Regions from separate parts of the Homo sapiens genome. Here regions 1, 2 and 3 are each linked to region 4. Evidence: promoter capture Hi-C in human tissues and cell types (Jung and others, 2019). All regions are on one chromosome and are shown on one strand. Each heading gives the region's core, a stretch centred on a gene start or on the middle of the fragment in contact. The rest is flanking DNA. Distances are from core to core; before and after follow the strand shown. Region 1 overlaps L3MBTL4 (L3MBTL histone methyl-lysine binding protein 4). Region 2 overlaps L3MBTL4 (L3MBTL histone methyl-lysine binding protein 4). Region 3 overlaps L3MBTL4 (L3MBTL histone methyl-lysine binding protein 4). Region 4 holds the start of TMEM200C (transmembrane protein 200C).

Region 1 (2,946 bases), core at 269-2,768, 480 kb before region 4:
TAATAAAACTGCACTTTCTGCACATGTACCCTAGAACTTAAAGTATAATACAAATAATAATTAAAAAAACCAACTCAGGAAACTCGTATGAAGAAAAGTGGACACGGCCAGGAGAGGAGGTAAGATTTCTTCACCTATACCTATTTATATGGTCTTAACTTTCGAACGAGATGAGTTTGTCAGTTACTCAGTATGTGAATGGATGAATTTGTAACCAAGCAAATAAACAAAATACAACACAGTGCTCCTGGTGGTCAGCCAGGTTTGTGACCCTTGAGACAGGGGGCCAGGTGAGGATCAGAGAAATCCACTTCCTCTCTTTTCCCTTTTCCTGTTTGTGCTCCGTGCCCTCCTCCAAAGCTTTATTTGCTTTTGGTTGAGAGAACTTTCTGGAATTTGTGATAGTCAGCGTTACTAATGTCCTTAGATAGTTGGCACTGTGTATCACCTTTTGTAAATACACAATGATTTCAGTGTGAGGGCAGGAGAGGACAAATCCCATCTTGCTACCTTCATTCCTCCATTCAGATATTCATTCAACAGATATGATAAGCTATTAGCAAGGGCCATACACTGTTCTAAGTGCTCAGGCTATGCTAGTAAGGAAAGTAGTTGAGGACCCTGACTATGTTTTTTGTTTGTTTTTTGAGACAAGGTCTCACTCTGTCACCCAGGCTGGAGTGCAGTGATGCCATCAAGGCTCACTGCAGCCTCAACCTCCCATGTCCAAGTGATCCTCCCATCTCAGCCTCCCGAGTAGCTGGGACTACAGGTACACACCACCACACTCAGCTAATTTTTGTTGTTGTTGTTGTACAGATGGGGTCTCCCCAGCCCAGGCTGGTCTGAAACTCCTGGTCCCAAGCAATCCTCCCACTTCAACCTCCCAAAGTGCTGGGATTATAGGCATGAGCCACTGTGCGCAGCTGGGGCCTTACTTTATGTACCCTGTAGATAGGATAGACAGACAACAAATATGCAAAACAAATGAACAGACAGTGTAATTTCATCAAGTGTTTAGTGATTAAACTAAAACAGACTGATGTGACAGCGAGTCAGGGGGTGCTACTGTGGATAATTTTCACGACTGACAGGAGGAGGTGATGTTTGAAGTGGGACCTACATTAAGAGAAGCAGGAAGCCCTGCAAGGATTTGGGTGCCGTGCTCCAGGTGGGCTGCAGTGAGTGCACAGGTGCTGAGGAGCATTTTGCTGGGCACCTCTGGGGACAGTGGGAGGGCCACTGTTGCCAGTGAGGCGAGCAGGGAGAAAGCAGACTGAGACAGTGGGGTCGGAGAGCTTGAGGGGCTAGACCCAGTCCATATGTGGCCTTGTAGGACTCAGTGACGAGTTTGGAGTTTCCTTAATGTGCTGGGAAGCTACTGGCAACTTGAGCAGGGCAGGGATGAGTTCTTAGCCACAACACTGTAGCCACATGTTTTGGGACACCTCATGTTTTTAGCGTGTCTAAACCTAAACTAGTGCCCTCGCCTGAGTTTGTGCTTTTGCCTATTTCTTGTTGAGTGGCTCTGCTCACATTGCTGCCCCAGTGGAGATTTGACATCCAGGCCAGGCCCTTCTTTCTTTATTATTGCCCATGTCTGTTCTGTCACCAGGTCCTATTGGATTCCACCCCATTCTTTTTGGGTTCTTCTCTATTTCTCATCCTGACTGTTGCAGTTAAGCCATTGTCATCTCATTTACTAAATTGGTATTGACGACCTCCTGTGCCCCAGACGTTATTCCAGGTGCTGGAGATACAGTGACAAAGAGCCCTCTCGGAGGGCTCAAGTAAAGGAACTAGGATGAAAAGTGCTGAGTGTCATGCTAAGGGAAGCGCTGGCTGTGGAAGTGTCCCTCACCTAGCCTGGGATCGGGGTGGTGGTTGCAGGAGGCATCCAAGGAAATGACATTTACACGGAGGTCTGAGGGGCAGCGAGGTGGTGGGAAGGTGGCTCCAGGTAGGAGGTGAGAAGAGAGCGCACAAAGTCAGGTTGTAGCACAGTCTGGCTGGGAAGAGAAGTCGGCTGGTCAGGTGGGGAGCCAGGTCAGGAGGTGCCTCAGAAGCCGTGGCAGCCTGGACTTTATCCTTAGGGCGGGAGAGCCATGGAGGGGCCATAAATGGGGGAGAGAGAGCCAAGCCGTAGAGGCATTTTAGGTCCACATATGGACAGTAAGTTTGGAAGGTATAAAGACTGGAGTTCCTGTATCGACTGGGGCAGATGCAGTGATCTAGGTGGCCGCCAGTGGAAGGCACCTGTGAGTCAGGGTTTGCAGTTCCTGTGTGGACGTCTGAATTAATTCTGCAGATCAGACTGCGTTACACTGCAAGAGCAGCCCGAGTTTCCCAATGCACCAAAGCAGAAGCTTTTTGGAAACCTATATATTTTTTCATACTATTGGGAATTTCTTCAGAATATGAAGGCTTTATCGAATTGTGTCTGAAATGAATTTCATTTAAATACTGAATTAATTGAAAGCTTTGCTTCTGAATATTTTTCCATAGATTTCACGGTGCTTTAGAAATTTCATTTTGCCTCATGTTTTAGTACTGGCAATAACTGCCAGTAATAGAAGTGGCAGTGTTGAGGGAAATGGTGGTGGCGAGTGTGGGATGGTCTCAGTGGGCAGCTTTCTTACGATGAGGAGAGGCGGGGCGTGACTGGTTCTATCGTGTTTTCACTGGGACCAGGACTCACTGTGGAAGGGCAGGAAGTACCACTTAGTGGTGAGAACAGCACGCAGGCTCCAGTTTACCATTCTGGTGATTTGACTTTAATGAAGCCCTTTGGAATTTTGACTGTAATCATGGAAGAGGTCATTTGCTTCTTTATTTGTACAGCTTTTTGTATCCATCTGTCCCACGAATATTTGTTGACACTCACTTCCTGTTAGGCACAATCCCACAAAAGAAATGTGGACTTTGCGGATGAAGTAGACCTCAATG
Region 2 (2,829 bases), core at 244-2,743, 260 kb before region 4:
GTGGGGTCTTTGTATTTTCACCCTTGCTCCTCACTCTGTGGAACCTCTGTAGCTCTTGCAGGTGCTTAGCTCATGTCCGGAAACACTTGGTGAAGGCTCCAGGATGGAATGTGCCAGTCCACCAGCAGGGCAGCCCCCCAGGACTGCATGACTCTCCATGCTGTGGATGAGAACGGCTGTACTTACGTCACCCTTCCTGCCCCTTCAGCCCTTGTTTTAAACACTCTTTCAGAAATCAGAGCTAAACAATGCAGAATAAAATATTTGATTATGTAGAAATGCTTTTAAATGTTTTAAAGTAGGAATAAAAACAACAAAATAAAAATGTGACATGTCCCAGTGCTTCTAATAAGATAGATATAGCTTGAGACAAAATATTCATTTTTTAATTAAATGCAGATTTGGCTGCACCACTTAGTAACTAACAGACTTTTCTCACCAGGGTATATATAAAGTGTTTGTTATGAAATGACAAAAAACTGAGGTGCCGCGACAAGGGCTGGTGGGGTATGGAGTGGCCTGGTGGTGCTGGCCCTTCAGGGAGAGCCATGTGGCATGCCCTGGAGCCTCCCGTGCAGGGACCATCGCGTCAGATTAAGCTGGGCTCTTGTTTATGATGGGAACACTTTGCATCTCCAACTTAAGAAGAACAAAGCTGCTCGCTCAGCTTGGGTATAGATATAAATAGATGCAGGAGAGGTGTTTCGATTCATCTTCTCTTATCCTAGTCACCAAAGATAGGGGTGTGGAATATGAAACTGATGGAATCCTAGGACTTATCAGATCCAAACCTCTCATCCAGAGGTGAGGCAACTCAATGATTCACACAGCTTGTTAGAGCCAGAGTGGGGTCTCTGGTCCTGGTCAGAATGTATTCTTACTTGCCTAAACCCTGCAATATGCACTTTTATAATCAGATGTGTTGCCCTCTGGTTATCCCGTCTCTGAACAGAAAAGTGGGTAACCCAGCCAGTGAGAGGTCCCAACCTGGGGCGAGGCCTATGGAAGTGCTGAGGTTGGGTTTCCAGCAAGGGATGGTATCCTCTGTTTTGCAGCATCAGCAATGCTGCATGAGGCATGAGGGGAAGAGGGCAGCAAAGCCCAAAAATAGATGACATTGCAGCATAGCCTCATACCTGGGTCGCCTGCAGTGACTTCACATCATTCCTGATCATCAGCAGCTCACAGGGCACACTCTTCCCAGGAAGATGGAGCCTTACCTTTTCATAAAGAGACATCCCTGATGGGTCTTGCTCAAGATCCTTCCTCCAAGGAGGAAGAGCTGTTTGCTCTAATCCCCAAGCCACTCTGTATGTGGCTTTTATATCTTGACACCAGATTTCTGCTCACCTACCAGCCCTTTTAGAGACCCCGTGCTTCCTTACTGAGGCACGTAAGAACTTCTGGGTCCCCTCCATGTACCACACAGGCTGTGCTGAAATGGAAGTACAGCCTTGGGCTCATTAACTTGGCCACTGACCTTCTACCATGTGTAAGTAGCCATGTGGGATCTCTTTCTACAGATGTACAGCTGTCCCTTAGTATTGCCACAGCCTTGTTTTAAGACCTCCTATTTATAAATAGATGCCCACTCCAATGCCAGCATGAAGGAAGGGTAAATGAAAACAGAGGGGGAGTAAATGAAAACAGAAGAGAGGAGTGTGCACATACACACCTCTTGCCTCCTTGTCTTCCTTAAGCCTCTCATTCACTACGCTTATTCCTTTCTCTCAATTGGTGAACACAAACTCTTTCCACCCTAAGGCCTTTGTATATATATGCTGTCTTCTCTGTTCAGAATGGTCTATCTGCTCTTCTACCAGATGGCTCTTTCTCACCCTTTAGAATACATCTTGAATGGTCCCTTCTTAGAAAGGCCTCCATGGGCCATATTATCTAAAGAATAGCAATCACTATTATTTTTCATTTGACCACTTCCTTATCTCCGCAGTGCAAAATACAATATGTAATCATCTCAGTTGTCATTAGTTCTTATGAAACCATAAGCTTCATGAATGGAAGGACGGTGGTATCTCTTAGTGTTTTTCCATGGTCTGACTTCCAAAAAACATTTGTCTATATATTCTTCTCTCTATAATGTGTTGGTTAGTCACATAATGCAAAACCAACATGCATCTGTAGAGGCCACCTTGGGCTCTCGCCTGCCACCTTAATGGAGTGAGTGAGTTCTTGAGTAGTAGCTATGGAATTGGTCTAGTCAAGCCTAGTAGGAGAGACACAGGCCAAGAATAACCCTCCCTAAGTGACCAAGGAAACTTTCCTAAATAGGAAGTTGATAGGCAGAAAAATGAGATTTCTTAGCTAGCTTCCATGTCTAAATAATTGTGTCATTGTTCTTTCTTTAGCTTCTGTTTGATTTTTATTTGGAAGTAATTATAATGCTTGATTACAAAGTAAATTAAATTATCATTATGAAGTTAAAGTGTATATTAATAGAGTAATAATACAAACTAAAATATATATATCCTTTGTAATTTATATTAATGACTTTGAGAACATTGCTAATTTATTTAACAGTTAAACATAAACAGGCATAATAGCACATAACTTGATAAAAGGTATAGTTCATTTTTATCCAATTTCATTTAATATACTGCACGTATATAAATACAACAGAATGACTTGTAAATACACCATATGGCTGGTACATTGTTTATCCTGATGAGTGAGATAAAATTCTTAATCTACACTAAGCAATGAATGATTAATAATGCCATCTTTTATGAGCATTGAAACTCTGTGGAATTAGAAAAATTTTATTCAGAGATGGAAATTCACTTAGATTATAAAATAAAAGTTAATGCAATT
Region 3 (2,924 bases), core at 56-2,555, 280 kb before region 4:
AAGACCTTGACTCTACAAAAAAACAAAATAAAATAATTGAGTGGTGTGGTGTGGTGGCATGCGCCTGTAGTTCCAGCTATTTGGGAGGCAGGAGGATCACTTGAGCCCAGGAGTTTGAGGCTGCAGTGAGCTGTGGCTGTGCCATGTCTGTGTATGTGTGTCCACACACACACATTACAACTATCCCTGGAATATATGTGTACAATAAAAGTGTGTCCCCTGCCATACCCAACACTCTTGCTCTTGGATTATGATAGTATTCTGTAAAGGCACGGTGCAAGCATTCTTGCCCCACAGCAGGGCAGATGTCTTGCCTCAGTACTATCCCTGAACCCACCTTTGCCATCCCTCAACAGAGCCCAGAGCCTGGCATCACAGGAAGTAAGATGAACTATAATCTTATTAGCACCAATAGTTATGAGCAATAGGTATCAGGAAAACATATTAAAACCCAGTTCTCCTCTCTAGAATGAAACTTAAGCCTAGTTAACTCAAAATGTATTAAATTAAAGCTAGAAGAGTTCAGGCACAATACAGGCTGTTTCTGAAGAAGTTAACATCATGTCTGCGCTTACAATTTGTTTGCCATAAGCATGTAAAATAGATTTGAGGACTCTGACAGTAAAACAAACGTATCCAATAAGCCTATTAAAGTGGAAATTAAAAATTTAAAAAAGGTTTATAGCAAAATAAAACAATGTAATAGTCACTTAGGCTAATAAAATTATTGTGACTGAGCATTCAATTTAGCCCCAATGTTCCTAGGTATTATAATAACTTCCTCGTCTTCCAATTGCCCAAAAGAACAATGAGAAGATGTGATTACTGTCTTGCATCTTATTCAGACAATGGGCTTTGAGCCTTTAAAATCTGTGAGACACAGGGCTAAGTGCCATGGGAGCAGCGAACATGACTGAGGCGTTGGGGTACATTTAAGGGGCTCAGGGCAAGTCCTACTGTGGGCATTGGGAAGTAAAGATAAGGAAAAGCAGAGACTGTGTTGGTGCAGACGGCTGGAAGTGTGGGATTTATGCCAAGGAGTTTTTCCTTGTTGTTGTTGTTTTTAATATGCTGATCTAACTTTTAAATTTCCAAGTTATTTCTTACCGCTCTTTAATAGCTAATGTGTAACGTTAATACCATTAGGACACATTCCTGTCTGTTGAAGGATAAGAACTTGAGACAGTGGTTGATTCAGTGATCTGACCTTTGTTTTCTAGTTTATCAAAGCTTGAGCAAGAAGGGTCTACATGTTTATTTTATGCAAACCCAGATATGTGAAAAATAATAAATGTATGAAATATAATGTTGAGATGATTTGGTTTTCAAAATGAGGCTTTGCTTTACAAAAGGACTCTTGGTAAATAGACTTAAAATGCCAGTCTCCTCTATTAACTTGACCATCTGGTTAGAATTTTTTAAATCGGATTTTTATTCCACAGATCCAAAGATATGATCCAAAGATATGAAAATATCTTTCATAAGGATGTATTCTACATAGGCACAGATTTTGATTATAAATTCAGAGTTTAGACAGCCCTTGTTGGGGAGGGGAGAATCACATCATTGGATTGGGAGGCTATTTTTAATTTCCATGGTTTCATTGTAAGCAGTTATAGACAATCCTGGAAATGATAATTTAATATTTATTAATGAACATAAGAGGAAAATGTTGAATAGGGTATGTAAAAATATTGTACCTGCTGTCAAAAAAAATTGAAAAAGATTTTTTTTTTCACTTCTTCAGTTGAGACCTAATTCTGCAGTCGGATTCCCAGGTCCACCACAATAGTTAAAATAGAAAGACCTAACTCCTCAAAGCAGGACCTTGCTGGGGTATTTGTCCTGTCCTGTTTGTGCTTTGACACAACTTCCTTGCTTTTGAAACATAAAAAAATTGCACCCCAGACTTAAAAGGGGAAGGGCATTGAAATTAGTTGAAGCTTGGGAAATTTATTTCTTCTTCACTCCATTATATGGACTTACACAAACTTCTTCCTATTGGTAATTCCAGAGCAGGAGGCATCATTCCAAAAAGGAACACCAGTGTTGCCTGTTCACACCTTGAATATTCAGTGGCCTGGTACTGACAGTCCTAGGGTGCCTGGCTATGTCTTGAGCACTGCAACATCGCCATCAGTAGAAGATAGTAGGAGACAGAGCAGCCACATGTGACAGCAGCTGAATGTAGAAATGTTTTAAATAAAGTAACTATATTGAGATGTAATTTGCAAATGATAAGATGTACAGATTTCATGCACGCATTTTGATGAGTGTTGAAAAATGTATAATATATCCTGCATAGCCACCATCCCAGTCGAGATGTAGAACACTTCCAACAACACAGAAGCTTCCTTTGTGCTCCTTCTCAGCCAGTCCTGCTCCCATCCTTCTCCCAGACAACCATGGACCTGGTTTCTATTGCCTGTTGTCAGATTTCCTATCAGTGGGGTCATGCAGCATGCACTGTTGTGTCTGCCTCATTGCTCAACATGAAGTCTGTTGTTCCCATGTTCATGCATGTGTAAACAGTTTATCCCTTTTTATTGCTGAACTAGCATTCGTTTTATGGACATTGCACACTTGTTTGTGAATGAATGTTCACCTGTTGGGCATTTGGGTTGTTTTCAGGTTTGGGCTATTATGAATAAAACTGCAAGGGGCATTTGTTTACACAACTTTATATTTTCATCACTTTTGTTGGAATTACTAGGAGTCACAGGGTAGGCACACGGTTTAAGCTTCTTTAAAAAGTAGTATAACATTATTGAAAGTGGTTGTGCAATTTTACACCCCTGCCGACATTGGTATGAATGCTTCAGGAGCTCCACAGCCTCGGCAGTAACTGATGTTGGGAAATTTTGTCTGTCATTTAAATCACTCGAGTGGGTATGCGGTAGTAATTCATTTTGGTTTCTCTGGTG
Region 4 (3,267 bases), core at 339-2,838:
TCATTATGGTTTGTTTTCTAATAGCCTGAATCTGAGCATGAATAGGTAGGGGGAAGGCGGTGGGTTCCGGACACCCTGATCATCATTCAGATTCGTTATTTGCTTGAAAAGGGTGACAGAGGCCACCTTTCCAACAGGTGAATGCAGGGTTGCCTTTTAGAAAACACTTCTGCTTCGTTCCCTCCTGTCCCCCACCGTCTCTATCCCCATCTCTTAGATCACTGTTCACATTTATATCATTGAACTTGTAAATTGGTTGTCTTTATTGTTCTTTTTGAAAAGTGTCTGCTCTAGATTTAAGCACAAGTGAATGCTGTGTATGTGGGGAACAATCTTGTAACAGGAGCTGCGGGCAGCAGAGCCCTCCTGTGTGGGTTTTGTGGACCCCTAAGCAGCAAAACTCAGAATATATAACACCCACCACCACCAAAATATTTATCTGGATCCAAAATTTCAGACAGCACTTGCTTCATCTGCTCTTCTGTTCCTTTCTTCCTGAATCCTGGCTGCCTCATTTCAATAGATAAATGAAATCTTTCTCACTTTCTCAATACTCTTTGGGGAAATTCCACTTTGAAATTCTCTTTTCCCTGTCATTTTTACTTTACAGTTGAGAAGACAGGGATGAACTAGGAAACAGGATCTCGATCTCTTTCTCTCTCTCTCTCGCCTTCTCTCTTTTTTAAATGACGTAGGGAGTTTGGACATCCTCCCTACCCCCACCTCCCCTCTCTGATTCCAACCCTGATTCCTGATTCCTGGAGAATTATAGTTTTCCTTTTAATGCTTGCTGATTACCGCACCGGGGAGGAGCAGGAGGGGCTGCCCAAGGAAGAGCCCCGGAGCCCATTCTGATCTCCGAGGAGCCCCAGCTGCCGGGTCCCGGTCAGGCTGGTCACAAAGCCCGGCGGGGCTGGAGCGCGAGCGCATCTGGCAGAGGCTTCCAAGCGTCCCGCGGTGCGCCCGTCCCGGCGGGGGCGGCTCCACTCCGCCCGGGCCCGAGTTCGCTGGGGGACAACTTACTGTGCTTGCCGAGCGTCCACACTGCAAACTCCCAAGCGGGAGGGGGAAGAGAGCCCAGGCTGCGCCGTGCCGAGGAGTAGAGGCAACAAAAGACCGAGGCACGAGGGGAGGGAGGCAGGCACGGAGGGACCGCGGACTCTGGCCCCTAGCTCCCCGAGAGCGCCCCTCGGATGCTGCTGGGGAGACCCTCCGGGCCTCTCTTTGGGGCCTCTGGGGCCCGCGGCTCAGACAGGTAGTTGGAGGAAAGAAGAACAAAGCTGCCCGCGGAGGCAGGCGGCGGTCTCGGGGCGCCCCGGGGCGGGGAGAGCCGAGGCCGAGGAGGCACCCCGCGCCCCCTGCCCCGCGGCCCGAGCGCCCCGTGCCGGCTGCCTCCGCCGCCTCCCCTCACGCCTCCTCCTCCCCGAGGAATCGGCGCTTCCGAAGGGACGGGCGGCGGGCGGCGGAGGACGCGGGGGAGCGGGGAAGGCCGGCGGCGTGGGGGGGGGCGCCGGAGGAGGGGGTGGGGCGGGGGGCGGGGGCGGGGGCGCCCCCCGACTCCGCCGAGCCGGGCGGGCCCCGACCGCCACCCTGCCGCAATTTCCCTGTGTCATGGCTCCGGTCTCTTAGCAACAGCCGCCAGTCCGGCCGCCCCGAGCCGCCGCCGCGGGCTCAACTCCACCCGGCGGAGCCCGGCGCGCCGCAGCCACACAAAAGAGGCGCGAGGGCCGGCGGCGCGGCCGCAGGGGCCCGCCCGGGAGCGCCGCGCTAGGGGACGCCGGGAGCTGGAGGATGAGCGGCGGAGAGGAGGGCTCCGAGGCGGGATGCGGGATGCGGGATGCGGAGGACCTGACACTTCTTGGAAACTCTTGGAAATGGCTCCCGCCACAGCGCCGGCGGGGACTGCGAGCCTGGGGCGGGCGCTCGCCCCCGCGGGGCTGCTGAGTCGCGCTCGGATGCGGGGCCCCGGGGCGCTGTCCCTGCGCTCCGCCGTCGGCTCGGGCTGAAAAAGTTTCTCCATGGTTCCTTTGTGTCGCCCGAGCGCCCGTTCGCCGGCCCCGACCTCCCTCGGTCTCCCTGGGTAAGTGAGCGATCTTGCGTGCGGAGAGTGCTGCCATTTTGAGCAATTCTGCCAGTCCCCAGCCCTTGGGGGCCCCTCCCCGCCCCTCGGGTCCCCGAGTCCCCGCGCCCCGGGCTGGTGTTCGGTGAGAGGCTTTTTCCCGGGCTGGCTACACGGGATGCGCTGCCCAGAAAAAGCTAGTTCAGGATTGCCCTCACTTGGCTCCTGCCTGTCTTCTTTCCAGAGGCGGACTCCCAGCTGCTGCACTCATGTGACTCCAGCTAACATCAATAAGCAGACCAAAGCCAGGGGCCAGGGGGTCGCCGCCCTGCCAGTGAGGGGCCGGGGTCGAGGACCTGGGTTGGGTACCGGGCACAGCACAGCGCTCCCAGCCTGTGGGATCCGAGCCTCCGAGCCTCAGAGTGGGGCTTAATCCATCTTGAGCGGAGAACTTGAATGTCTCTCTTGGAAGCAGTTGTATTTTTAGACATCCCTCCTTTGCTTCCCCCATCCTCCATTCTTTAACCACGGTAAGACCAGCTCCAGGCAGTAAATTGCGAGGGCAGCCAAGCTTGACTGCTAAGTTTGTTTTCTTTCATTAGGTATAAAGGAAAACCTCAAAGGTGGGTCTCCCGTGGCATCTGACCTTTGTCTGTATTTCGTGTCAGATGATGATACATTAAAAGGGAGTACAGCCTTCAACAGAGCTGAAGGAATAATAAACGAGGGAGTTAATTACTAGCTATTAAACTCATTTTAAAGATGTGCGGTAAAGGACTGTTGAAATCCATTCCAACCTTCCTTACATTCTACCGGAGCCAAAGCTGCCTTGCTGAGGAGAAATCCAAGTGGGTTTCCTCCTCCCCCAAGGCATCCAGCCTCCCGGCGCACCTGATCAATGCCCAACAAAACATGTAGCCTTTCTGCGGTGGGAGAGCCACCCTGCCAACTGAGTCTGAGTTCGCTTCTAAAAAATGTCTGGTCCTTAAAGCCTTCTTAAGATAACCACGGATCTCCAGATTATTTAAGATGCTGGACTCCAAGGATCACTTAAAACAACAGTCTCTATGTTACAACCACATAATAAATGTGCTTACTTATTTGGGATTAGAGATAGACAGTAAGCTCTTTTTTTTGTTTGTTTCAATCTGTACTTACTGGTGCAGCTTAAAGGTTTATAGATGTATTCTCTATACTGACCCCTCTCT

What was found. The method cuts DNA at HindIII sites, captures the fragments that hold promoters and counts their contacts. A contact is called where the count stands out against the background at its distance.
Region 1: a contact is called between a fragment that was not itself captured here and the fragment with the promoter of TMEM200C in region 4, in 1 of the 25 tissues and cell types used here (hippocampus).
Region 2: a contact is called between a fragment that was not itself captured here and the fragment with the promoter of TMEM200C in region 4, in 2 of the 25 tissues and cell types used here (H1 embryonic stem cells and small bowel).
Region 3: a contact is called between a fragment that was not itself captured here and the fragment with the promoter of TMEM200C in region 4, in 5 of the 25 tissues and cell types used here (H1 embryonic stem cells, IMR-90 fibroblasts, dorsolateral prefrontal cortex and 2 more).

The regions. Positions count from the first base shown.
Region 1 is chr18:6,374,439-6,377,384 of GRCh38, reverse strand. All of the region lies in intron 1 of L3MBTL4 (L3MBTL histone methyl-lysine binding protein 4), which reads left to right. Among named protein-coding and RNA genes, the nearest start is that of MIR4317, 1.5 kb to the right of the region's middle. The HindIII fragment of the contact is 4,980 bases long and covers 1-2,946 here.
Region 2 is chr18:6,157,382-6,160,210 of GRCh38, reverse strand. All of the region lies in intron 13 of L3MBTL4 (L3MBTL histone methyl-lysine binding protein 4), which reads left to right. Among named protein-coding and RNA genes, the nearest start is that of L3MBTL4-AS1, 98 kb to the left of the region's middle. The HindIII fragment of the contact is 6,349 bases long and covers 1-2,829 here.
Region 3 is chr18:6,176,911-6,179,834 of GRCh38, reverse strand. All of the region lies in intron 12 of L3MBTL4 (L3MBTL histone methyl-lysine binding protein 4), which reads left to right. Among named protein-coding and RNA genes, the nearest start is that of L3MBTL4-AS1, 78 kb to the left of the region's middle. The HindIII fragment of the contact is 4,893 bases long and covers 1-2,924 here.
Region 4 is chr18:5,893,843-5,897,109 of GRCh38, reverse strand. It overlaps TMEM200C (transmembrane protein 200C), which reads left to right and starts at 1,588. Exons shown (of 2, transcript NM_001395400.1): 1 at 1,588-2,080. All of the region lies in intron 9 of MIR3976HG (MIR3976 host gene), which reads right to left. LOC121725015 (a long non-coding RNA gene) reads right to left here and starts at 1,383. Exons shown (of 3, transcript NR_172505.1): 1 at 1,024-1,383. The HindIII fragment of the contact is 12,914 bases long and covers 1-3,267 here.